2 separate regions of the Homo sapiens genome follow, and region 2 is linked to region 1. The links are contacts of gene promoters, found by promoter capture Hi-C in blood cells and fetal thymus (Javierre and others, 2016). All regions are on one chromosome and are shown on one strand. The core of a region is centred on a gene start or on the middle of the fragment in contact, and the rest is flanking DNA. Distances in the headings are between cores, read along the strand shown.

Region 1 (5,128 bases), core at 1,846-4,345:
GCACAATCATCTGTTCACCGCACAATCATCTGTTCACCGAGTGCTCCTCCTGCGGATCACTTTTTACATCTTGTTTTGGGCCGGGTGTGGTGGCTGACACCTGTAATCCCAACAATTTGGGAGGCTGAGGTGGGAAGATCACCTGAGGTCAGGAATTTGAGACCAGTCTGGCCAACATGGTGAAACCCTGTCTCTACTAAAAATACAAAAATTAGCCGGGCATGGTGGCAGGTGCCTTTATTCCCAGCTACTTGGGAGGCTGAGGCAGGAGAATCACTTGAACCTGGAAGTGAAGGTTGCAATGAGCCAAGATCGTGCCACGGAACTCTAGCCTGGGTAAAAGTGAGACTCTGTCTCAAAAAAAAAAATAAAATAAAATAAAATAGATAAAATAAAATAAATCTTGTTTTGGAGTCCAGTTCAGACACCAAGGAGGGTTCTGGGGTCACTGCCAGCCAGAAGAAACGTTTTAATAAGCTTTCCTGGGCATTCCCAACAGTACGGGACAAAATCTACACGCCCTGCCCTGAGAAAGCAGCCTCCTGGCTGCCATCCCTCGGCTCACAGAGCTACAGCTGAGAAATGGGCCTCCTGCCTGCTCACTGCTGGGGGCAGGAGACGAGGCCTGGCTCCTTGCCAGAAACTGGGTAAGGAGGAAATGTGCGGGTTGGCCAAGTGGGGCAACAGGAGGCCCGCAGAAGTGAACTGTTTCCAAGGCTCCAAATCTAGCAGGTGATGGGCAGAGCCAACTTGCAACACCTAAAGTCCCTCTGCACCACGCCAGGGCCTTGGGAAGCTGTGAAAGTTTACTAACATGCAGTTCTGTCCTAAAGATGCCAGGATTCTAATTCTTTCCCCAGATCGCATAGTCCTAAGCTCCCCCTTGCCAATTAGAGAGGGAGGGGACCCTGCCCAACTGACAAAGTTTGAGGGAGGAGGTACTCAGCAGGCTCAAGGCCATTACAAACAGCACGCAGGAAGATGTTGATATTTCCATTTCATGCTGGGTGAGGGGGAAGAAAGGACGCTCAATTTCAGAGCCTGATGAGAAGCCAGAAGCTAGGATGTCAGTTATGCCCCGAGATGCAGGTCTCTGTCAGACTGCCCAAACCCATGCCATCAGCAGGCTGCGGCTGGAGAATGTGCCGCTCCTGCAAAATCTGGGGGACCTTCTGATGGAGTTGGAATAACACCCTCCCACTGTCTGACCTGGTCCTCCCTCCTCAAATATCTCCAGGAAGAGGTGGCTAGGAAAAGAGATGGGCAAGCGTGCTGCCTCCTGCCCCCATCCCTGCCCCTCCCCAGGCTGAGTGGAGGGCAGCTTCCCTTCCAAAGAAAAGGAGTCTTGAAGAACCCCTTGCAAACTTTTAAAGCTGCAGAACCATCTTCTTCAAATATGGAGCGCCCCCTCCACCTAAGCTTCAGATGAAAAGGGGGGAGCTGCTCTCATGGGGTGCACAGCAACCCCCAACCTCGCCTAGGTGGTTGTTGAACTCTTGTGGCTCTGAGCCACTGGTTGCTGCAGTGACCACCATAAAAGGGCAGGGGGTTCTCAGTCTCCTGGCATTCCTCACTCAGGGTCTCTGCCCAGGCTGACACCCAACTCTGACGGCCCTCTCCGGCGCCCCCTCCTCCAGGGTCCAGGTCATCCTCTGCAGGCCCCTTAATGCCCCAGGCAAGACTGAACCTGAGCCACAAAACCTGGGGAGGGGGCTAGGCGTTCAGGAAGACTCTTCAGAAGCCTGCATCTGGAAGTGGGGAAGCAGTGGACAAAGACTTTCTCAGTCCTGCCTCAATGCGGGGTGGGGAGGCGGGGAGGACATGGGCTTGGTAAGCCACAAGACCGCTGGGGGCGGCGCCCACGTAGACACCTTTGCCAGGCACAATAAAACCTGGCTGGGCCAGCTCTCCCTCCCTCCCTGTCCCTGCCCGCCACGCGTTCTGCCCCCTGCGGGCCCTTCCCGGACACAAGGCACGCAGCTCAGACAGTTTTCCACGGCGGAAATGCCTTCTCTCCCCCCCGGCCAGAGGGAAAGTGGAGGAAGCCGGGGTAGGGGAGGGGGATGACAGGGGTGGGGGAACGCGCACAGAGCCCGGGGACCCAGGATGCAAGGGCACTGGGGCAGTTGGGAGCCCTCCCCGTGGGGTCGGGGGACAGCCCAGCGAGAGGCTGGGAATGGAGAAAAGAGAGGGGAGCAGGGAGGCCCAGACGGCAGGGCGTGGGGTGGGAAGGGGGCACCCGGCCTCGGACCCCCGACGTCCAGAGGCCGCAGCGCCGTCGGTTCTGGCTGATTTCCATTTCATCACTTTCTGGTCTGTCAATTCCGGTGCAGGCCAGCAGCACATCCTCTGTCCCTCGCAGCCCCCAATTTCGGAGGAAATCAACGGCCCCACCCTCTTCGTTGGTACCAGACCCCCCCACCCCCAATTCCCCAGCCAATCAGGTCCCACCGCCCTACTTTGGAAAAACTACGTCTAACCCTCCTCCCATCCCCCACCTGGGGACTCGACTCGCGGCTTTCCCAGTTGATTGGAACCAGACGCGTACCCCCCCACCAACATTCCTCGAACTTCTTCGGACCAGCCCCCTCCCCCTATAAGGCGGCGAGGGGGCCCCCACTTTTGGAAGAGACCTCGAGCACTTCTCCACCTGAAGACCAGAACCAGACGCCTCCCACTCTTCGGACTTCAGCTTTTGGCTGCCGCTTTAGTACGGGACTTAAGCCCCCTCCTCATTCTGGGATAAGCAACCATTCGAGACTTCCCAACCCTGCTCCACCCCGGGCTCTGGGGCCCTGACGCGCCTCGGGCAGTCCCCAGGGCCGACGGGGCGCGCCTGGGTCGTGAGCCTGGGTCCCCCGCCCCACCGCCTGAGCCCCAGACCCTCTCACCCTAGCCGGCGTCAGCAGGATCTCGGTGGCCGAGGCCGGCGCAGGGGCCGACGCCGACGCCTTGTCAGCCTTGTCGCCCTTGATGCCAGCCACGGCGGGCTGGAAGCTAATCTTCACCATGGCTGCGCCGGCCCGCGCGTCCGCCCCGCAGCCTCTGCCGGTGCAGCCTCGGTCTCTGCCTCCGCCGCTCCGAGCTCTGCAGGCACCGGAAGTTTGGATCCCGCTCGCGTCCCTCTCTCTAACCCCACCCCCAGCCCTCCCCGCCCCGTCCCCGCGGGAGGGCCCCGGCGCCCGCCGCGCCTGCGCCCCCTTCCCGCCCGCGGGGCCCGCAGTGACCCCTGCCGGGCGCGCCGCTCCGCACCTGGGGCGGGTCGGAGTTCCTTCTGCCGCTCGCTCGCACAGTCACTCACTCGCTCGCTCACTCACTCACTCACTCACTCGCTCACTCATTCATTCAGCCGTCACGCTCGGATCCGTTCTCCGTAGCATAATCCCTTCGCATTCCCTGTCCAAGGCCAGCATCCCCGCAACGCAAGTCTTTGTTAACCCAGTGTTTGCCAGGCAAATGCAGCTTCCAGACAACTCACCCGTCTCTCCTGCCCCACTTCAGGTCTTCCCCTTTAGAAACGCTGGAGCCTCCGCTCTACCTGTCCCCACGCCCCCCTCCTCCGACCTGTCCTTGGCGCGGGGAGGAGGCTTTGAGACAGGCGCCAAACTGCTGCCTCCGTCTTGCCTTCTGAAGCCATCCACGCCTCCTTCATCCTCCATCTTGCTTCTGCCTTCATTCTTTATTCCTGCAAAACCTTCCTGGGGGGTCCTGGGGTGCACGCTGGAGCCGCCTGGAGTGGAGAAGGGAAGGCCGCCCCTGCTCCCTGGCTCCTTCGTGTTGCTGCGACCTCAGTTATTGGGTGACCTCCTGAACTGCCCTTGTCTCACTCATCCAGGAGGACCCTGGCGAGAGTGGAGGGAAGACCCCCAGGGCGGGTGTCAGAGGCTCGGGTTCCACTCAAGACTCTGCTCCTCCCAAGTATCACGGGTACTGGGGAAGCAGGGGCTTCTGTTGCTGGGATGGCTGCTCTTGGCACTAACGCCCTGAATCTTTCCTCTTTGCTCCTGGTCCAGACTGGGCCAGGGACAGCGCCCAGCAACACACACAGGTTGTGCTGAGTGGTCCGCTTTGGTTCTGCTGTTGGGCTGCCAGTGGAGGGCAGGGGAGTCCGTCCGCTTCTTGAGGACAGTCCGGGGTCCTCCACTGATCTCTCTTCTCACCTTTCAGGTCTTTTGCAGCTGCCTTGGGCCCTTAGCGCCCACGTCCCAGACCCGGACCTCTTGGCTCAGATCTTGGATGAACCTAGCAACCTTGAGGACAGACAGGTGGGGAAAGAAGAAAGTCTAACTGATGCTAAGGCCACCAGCCTGGGGAACTGGGGGGAGGGAATGGGGAGGTGGAAGAAGACAGATGGTTTGGAGGAGACGAGGAGGAATCTGGTTTGGCACAGAGCCAGAGAGGAAGGTGTTATGGACTACCGCTCATCACCTGCTCCAGATCCCATGGGAAACCTGGTGTCTGGAGAAGGCAAGCTCCACGTCTTGCTTAGGCCACACCCCCAACATGCATTCCTTCACTCAGTGTTTTCCAAGCACCCCTGTGTGCCAAGCATTGTGTTAAGCTCTGTGGCAGAAAACAGAGATGCCCAAGACACAACCCAGCCACCAAGGATGTGGTCATGTGAAACCTTCTATGAGTGGCATTCTTTCACGTGCATTCAATTATTTAATTTTCATCACAGCCTCTGTGACCTACACATTAGCCTCATGTTAATAGTGATAGAAGGTAGCATGACTAAACCCAGGGTCGCAGAGCTGGTTTGGCACAAATCTCTGGTCAGCAAGACAGGGCCACCTGGGTGAAGCATCCACATGCCTGAGATTGGCAGGCGAGCACCCCACTTCCCCTGGAAGGCCTTCCCAGACCGGCTGGGATAAGTCCCTTTCCTGTGCACCTTCAGCACTGTGCACATCCCCCTCGGGCCTCTCCTTACGCTTGACCATGGACTCAATGCCGGCCAAGTGCTGGGCGTACAACCTAGTGCAGTGATTCCTAAATTTTTTGGTTTCAGGACCCCAAGAGCTTTTGTTTAGGTGGCTTATGTCTATCAACATTTACCATATTAGAAACTAAAACTCAGAAAGTTTTAAGACACAAGAATACATATATTCCATTGGGCATCAAAGCG
Region 2 (5,128 bases), core at 1,303-3,802, 120 kb before region 1:
CCCTTGACTAAATTTGGGCAAAATAAAATGATCTCTAACCTTTGTAAAGCTAATCAGACACCTCTAGGGTAGCAAATCCTAAAAGAAAAAGATCAGGCATATGAGTGCGTGTGTGTGTGCACGTGTATCTGTGTTGCCAAGCTGTTCCCTCCCCCACCCCCACCACTTTGCTTTTGGAGGCAAAGGAAAGGCACCCTCCTGGCTAGCAGGCCAGATGAGCCTTGTCACCTGGGGGATAGGATGCGACCCAGATCTGCTCCTGAGCACAAAGATGAGCAAAATCAAAGGAAATTGCATGAGACTGAAGACCTTCTGTGTGGTCCTCCTGGGAGTGGCAGAAGTTTCTGGTGGAGGCGCAAAACAGGCCCCTGCTACACATAACTTCCATAACCACCAATCCACAGGCAATCCACCCACCCACACCACATCCCAGGCCTCTCCTTTCCGTGCCTGACCTGTGCTCCCGTGGCCTGCATGGGTGTGAGTCGCCTCTTTCTCCACTGCAGGCCTCTTCCAGGATGTCCTGGTGAAGAACACCACTGCCTGTCCAATTATACTAGTCAGAACCCTGGGAGTGTCTCTTGACACTCCTTCTCATCGTCCGCCAAACCCAGCCCATCCCCAAAGCCTGTTGATTGTATTTCCTGCTTGTCACACAAATGCCACCAGCTTTGATGGGCACCTTGTTCCTCCCCTTTGTGGTACTTGTCACAGTTGCAATTTGCCTGTGAGCTCCGCAGAAGACAGATGCCACGGCTGCTTATTCCTTGTCGTGTCCCTGGTTCCTAAAACAGTGCCTCGTGCATCACTGGTGTTCAATAAATACTTGCCAAATCATTGAATAAATAAGCAAATGAATGAAGGAATGCAGTTTTGAGTGAGGATGGTGTTGAAAAGGAATAAAGCCTTCCCCAGTAGTGCCTGAGGTCCATGTAAGAATGTCCTAGATGATAAGACAGGAGACACACGGGCGTGGTAGATGGGCTCTCCCCACCCCTCCCCATAAGAGTGCAAAGCTGGGACAAGCCAGAGGCTTCACAGGCCTGGTAACTGGGGGGTAGGGTTTGGTGATTCCTACCCAGGGCTGGGGGCATCGGGAGGCTCTTCCTCTCTACCTGGACTGTGTTTACCAGGTGTGTTTCCCATTCATTATTTTCCAGTGGGTACTGGGTTCAAAGTTTCTATAAGCAGTGGGGGCTTTGAGGTTCGAGGAAAGTGTAGTATAGCTTTCTCTTCCTTTTAGGAAGATTTCTGTTTTTCTTTTTCTTTTTTTTTTTTTTTTTTTGAGACAGAGTCTTGCTCTGTCACCCCAGCTGGAGTGCAGTGGCATGATCGAGGCTCACTCCAACCTCCGCCTCCCAGGTTCAAGTGATTCTTGTGCCTCAGACTCCTGAGTAGCTGGGATTACAGACATGAGCCTCTGCACCCGTCCTAGGAAGATTTCAAAACGAAGATGAGTCTATTGTAATTTAGAGGGCCATTTTAAACTCCCTGTGTTGGTGGCAGATGGTTTGGGTCTGGCAGCTAGCTCTATCCCAACCTTCTCTATCCACCCTGCAACTCCCTCCCCTCCCCCTCACATTTTATTTTGAAATTTTCAAACATTCTGAAAAGTTCAAAGAAGAGTACAATGAACTTACCCTGGATTCTCCAACTGTTAACATTTTGCCACAATTGCTTTGTCTCTGTTGGTCTCTCTCTGTCTTTGTATATTTCCACATACTTTTATTTTGCTGAGCAATTTGAAAGCAAGTTGCTGACATCTTGACACTTCACTTCTAGATATCTCAGCATCTCCTAATAAGGATATTCTCCCACAAAACCACAATACCATGATCACAACCATAATAGCACCCAGTGTACTATCTGTATTCAAATCTCTACAGTTGTCCCCGGAAGAGCTTTTAATGCTGGATTTTTTTTTCCTATCCAGGATCCAATCAAGATCATGTATGATATTTGGTTGTTATGGCTCTTCAGTCTCTTTTCATCTGAAACAGTCTTTCACCTTTTTATTGTTGTTGTTGTTCTTTGTTTATGTGAAATTAGTTTTTGATAAAGAGTCCAGGACAGTTGTCTTGTAGAGTGTCCCATATGTGGGTTAATCTGATTGCTTACACAAGATTAGATGCAGGTTGAATATCTTTGGCCAGAGTTCTGTACTGCATAGGTGCCACTGTAGACTTCTCAGTCAAGTATCACATCTGGAGTAAATAATGTCAATATCACATCTGGAGTAAATAATGTCAGGCATCACAACTGGAGTAAATAATGTCAGTATCACATCTGGAGTAAATAATGTCAGTATCACATCTGGAGTAAATAATGTCAGTATCATATCTGGAGTAAATAATGTCAGTTATCACATCTGGAGTAAATAATGTCAGGCATCACATCTGGAGTAAATAATGTCAGGCATCACATCTGGAGTAAATAATGTCAGGCATCACATCTGGAGTAAATAATGTCAATATCACATCTGGAGTAAATAATGTCAGTTATCACATCTGGAGTAAATAATGTCAGTTATCACATCTGGAGTAAATAATGTCAGTTATCACATCTGGAGTAAATAATGTCAGGTATCACATCTGGAGTAAATAATGTCAGTATCACATCTGGAGTAAATAATGTCAGTATCACATCTGGAGTAAATAATGTCAGTATCACATCTGGAGTAAATAATGTCAGGCATCACATCTGGAGTAAATAATGTCAGGTATCACATCTGGAGTAAATAATGTCAGTATCACATCTGGAGTAAATAATGTCAATATCACATCTGGAGTAAATAATGTCAGGTATCACATCTGCAGTAAATAATGTCAGTATCACACCTGGAGTAAATAATGTCAGGCATTACATCTGGAATAAATAATGTCAGTATCACATCTGCAGTAAATAATGTCAGTTATCACATCTGGAGTAAATAATGTCAGGCATCACATCTGGAGTAAATAATGTCAGTATCACATCTGGAGTAAATAATGTCAGGTATCACATCTGCAGTAAAAAACATCAGTATCACATCTGGAGTAAATAACATCAGGTATCACATCGGGAGTAAATAATGTCAGTATCGCAACTGGAGTAAATAATGTCAGGCATCACATCTGGAGTTAATAATGTCAGGCATCACATCTGGAGTAAATAATGTCAGTATCACTTCTGCAGTAAGTAATGTCAGGTATCACATCTGGAGTAAATAATGTCAGGTATCACATCTGGAGTACATAATGTCAGTATCACATCTGGAGTAAATAATGTCAGGTATCACATCTGGAGTAAATAATGTCAGGCATCACATCTGGAGTACATAATGTCAGCCACTCTTGGTCATTCTGAGTTTGATCACTAATCCTCACTCTGCTTCCCCTTTTGTAAGTAATTTTTAGAATCTTCACATGGTCACAGGATTAACTGAATATCCAAGTCACCAAACAGTTTTGGCAACTCTTGGTGATGCTTACCTGAAGGAAGCATTACATTGGAGGTTGGAAAATGGTAGTTTTTCATTCTTTTATTCCTGCTACATTTACTAGCTGGCCTTTTTTTCTGTAAGAATTTCCAAATCCCACTATATTAAAAACATTAATCACTGTGGGTTCGTGGAGTTTTAAAAATGCTATAATTGAAACTACAGTTATTCATTTTGATGTTCAAATCATCCCACATTTGAGCAGTGGGAGCCCTCAGGTCAGCTCCTGAATCCTTTTGACATGATCACATTTATCTTCCAAAACTGTTTTGCTTTCTGGTGTGACAAGAGATTCCATGCTCACGTTGTACATTTTCACCCCTGACCTAGAATCTACCATTTCTCTAACGAGCCCTGGTGCCTTTAGTGGTGAATGGTATAGAGAAAGAAAGAACCTGGTGATATATGCGATCATTGCTACTCGGCTGTCATTCAGTGGACAGGATTAGAAAACTCATTTTAAAAAAAATTACAAGTTCAAACTGATATATTTCCTACTCAAATTTAACATTACAGTTTTTCTTTCACTTCTTTACTGACTACTAGTATCTTTTTTCCCCGTCAGTAAAATATATATTTGCTTATTTGCTTTCCACTATACATGCACAAAAGAGTTTCAGAATTACAAGACCAATATTACTGCTAACAGTAAACATACTAAATAGAAGTTTTTCTATAGTTCTTCTGTTCTTAGAACAGATCCTTCTCCACAATCAGAGTGTTTGCTCTGTGTGGTTGTGGTATCAGTTTGAGGCGTTATCAGTTTGATTTCCTTCTTTTGCATTCTATTGTAGGGTATTCTTTATCCCACCTTTTTAACATTTAATTTTATTTTTAAAATACGTGAAACATTTATGTAGTTAAAAAGTAAAAATGGGTTGAGAATAGTGGCTCACACCTGTAATCCCAGCACTTTGGGAGGCCGAGGTGGGAGAATTGCTTGAGCCCAGGAGTTTGAGACCAGCCTGGGCAACGTAGGAAGACCTCATTTCTACAAAAATAAATAAATAAATAAATAAATGAATAAATAAATAAATAAATAGCTGGGTACGGTGGCGTGTGCCACTGGGAGGCTGAAGCAGGAGGATTGCTTGAGCCCAGGAGGCTGAGGCTCCAGTGAGCCACTGCACTCCAACCTTGGTGAGAGAGCGAGACCCCGTCTCTGAAAAAATAAAAAAATAAAAAGTGACAATGATATGAGATATACAAGAGAAGCCTCACTGCCGTTCCTATCCCTTCTACCCCATTCCTTCCCACCTCCACGGTGAATGCCTTCCATTAGTGTCTGTTTAATACTGTATTTCTTTTCACAAAAATAACACATACACGTATTCATTTTCTCTTCTTTCCATATGAAAGATGGTATAATATATATCCTCCTTTGCATCTTACCCCGAACCTCATTATCCGTTCACACAGACCTCTCATGCTCACATTCATTCCTTCCCATTTCAGAACATTCTGCTGTCACATGGAACCTGTTCAGGGTTGGTTTTTGTCTAATCTATATTAATGCTAGTTATTTCAGAAGACCATGCAATACCCGTGAAAACTTCCCCTTCGCTCTCAGAAAGTTTGCACAAAAATCAACTCACAAAAGGCAGGTTAATTAGATAAAACACTATGAATTTATTTTAACGTGTCAAGCAT

What was found. The method cuts DNA at HindIII sites, captures the fragments that hold promoters and counts their contacts. A CHiCAGO score of 5 or more calls a contact.
Region 2: a contact is called between a fragment that was not itself captured here and the fragment with the promoter of ITM2C in region 1, in 4 of 17 cell types (naive CD8 T cells, naive CD4 T cells, activated CD4 T cells and 1 more). The highest score is 8.4, in naive CD8 T cells.

The regions. Positions count from the first base shown.
Region 1 is chr2:230,862,909-230,868,036 of GRCh38, reverse strand. ITM2C (integral membrane protein 2C) reads right to left here and starts at 3,095. Exons shown (of 6, transcript NM_030926.6): 1 at 2,892-3,095. The coding sequence starts at 3,011. RefSeq lists silencers at 1,896-1,995, 2,786-2,875, 2,976-3,345 and enhancers at 1,779-2,435, 2,436-3,094, 3,753-4,411. The HindIII fragment of the contact is 7,451 bases long and covers 1,422-5,128 here.
Region 2 is chr2:230,977,368-230,982,495 of GRCh38, reverse strand. No RefSeq gene overlaps it. Among named protein-coding and RNA genes, the nearest start is that of SPATA3-AS1, 16 kb to the left of the region's middle. RefSeq lists an enhancer at 607-746. The HindIII fragment of the contact is 9,305 bases long and covers 1-5,128 here.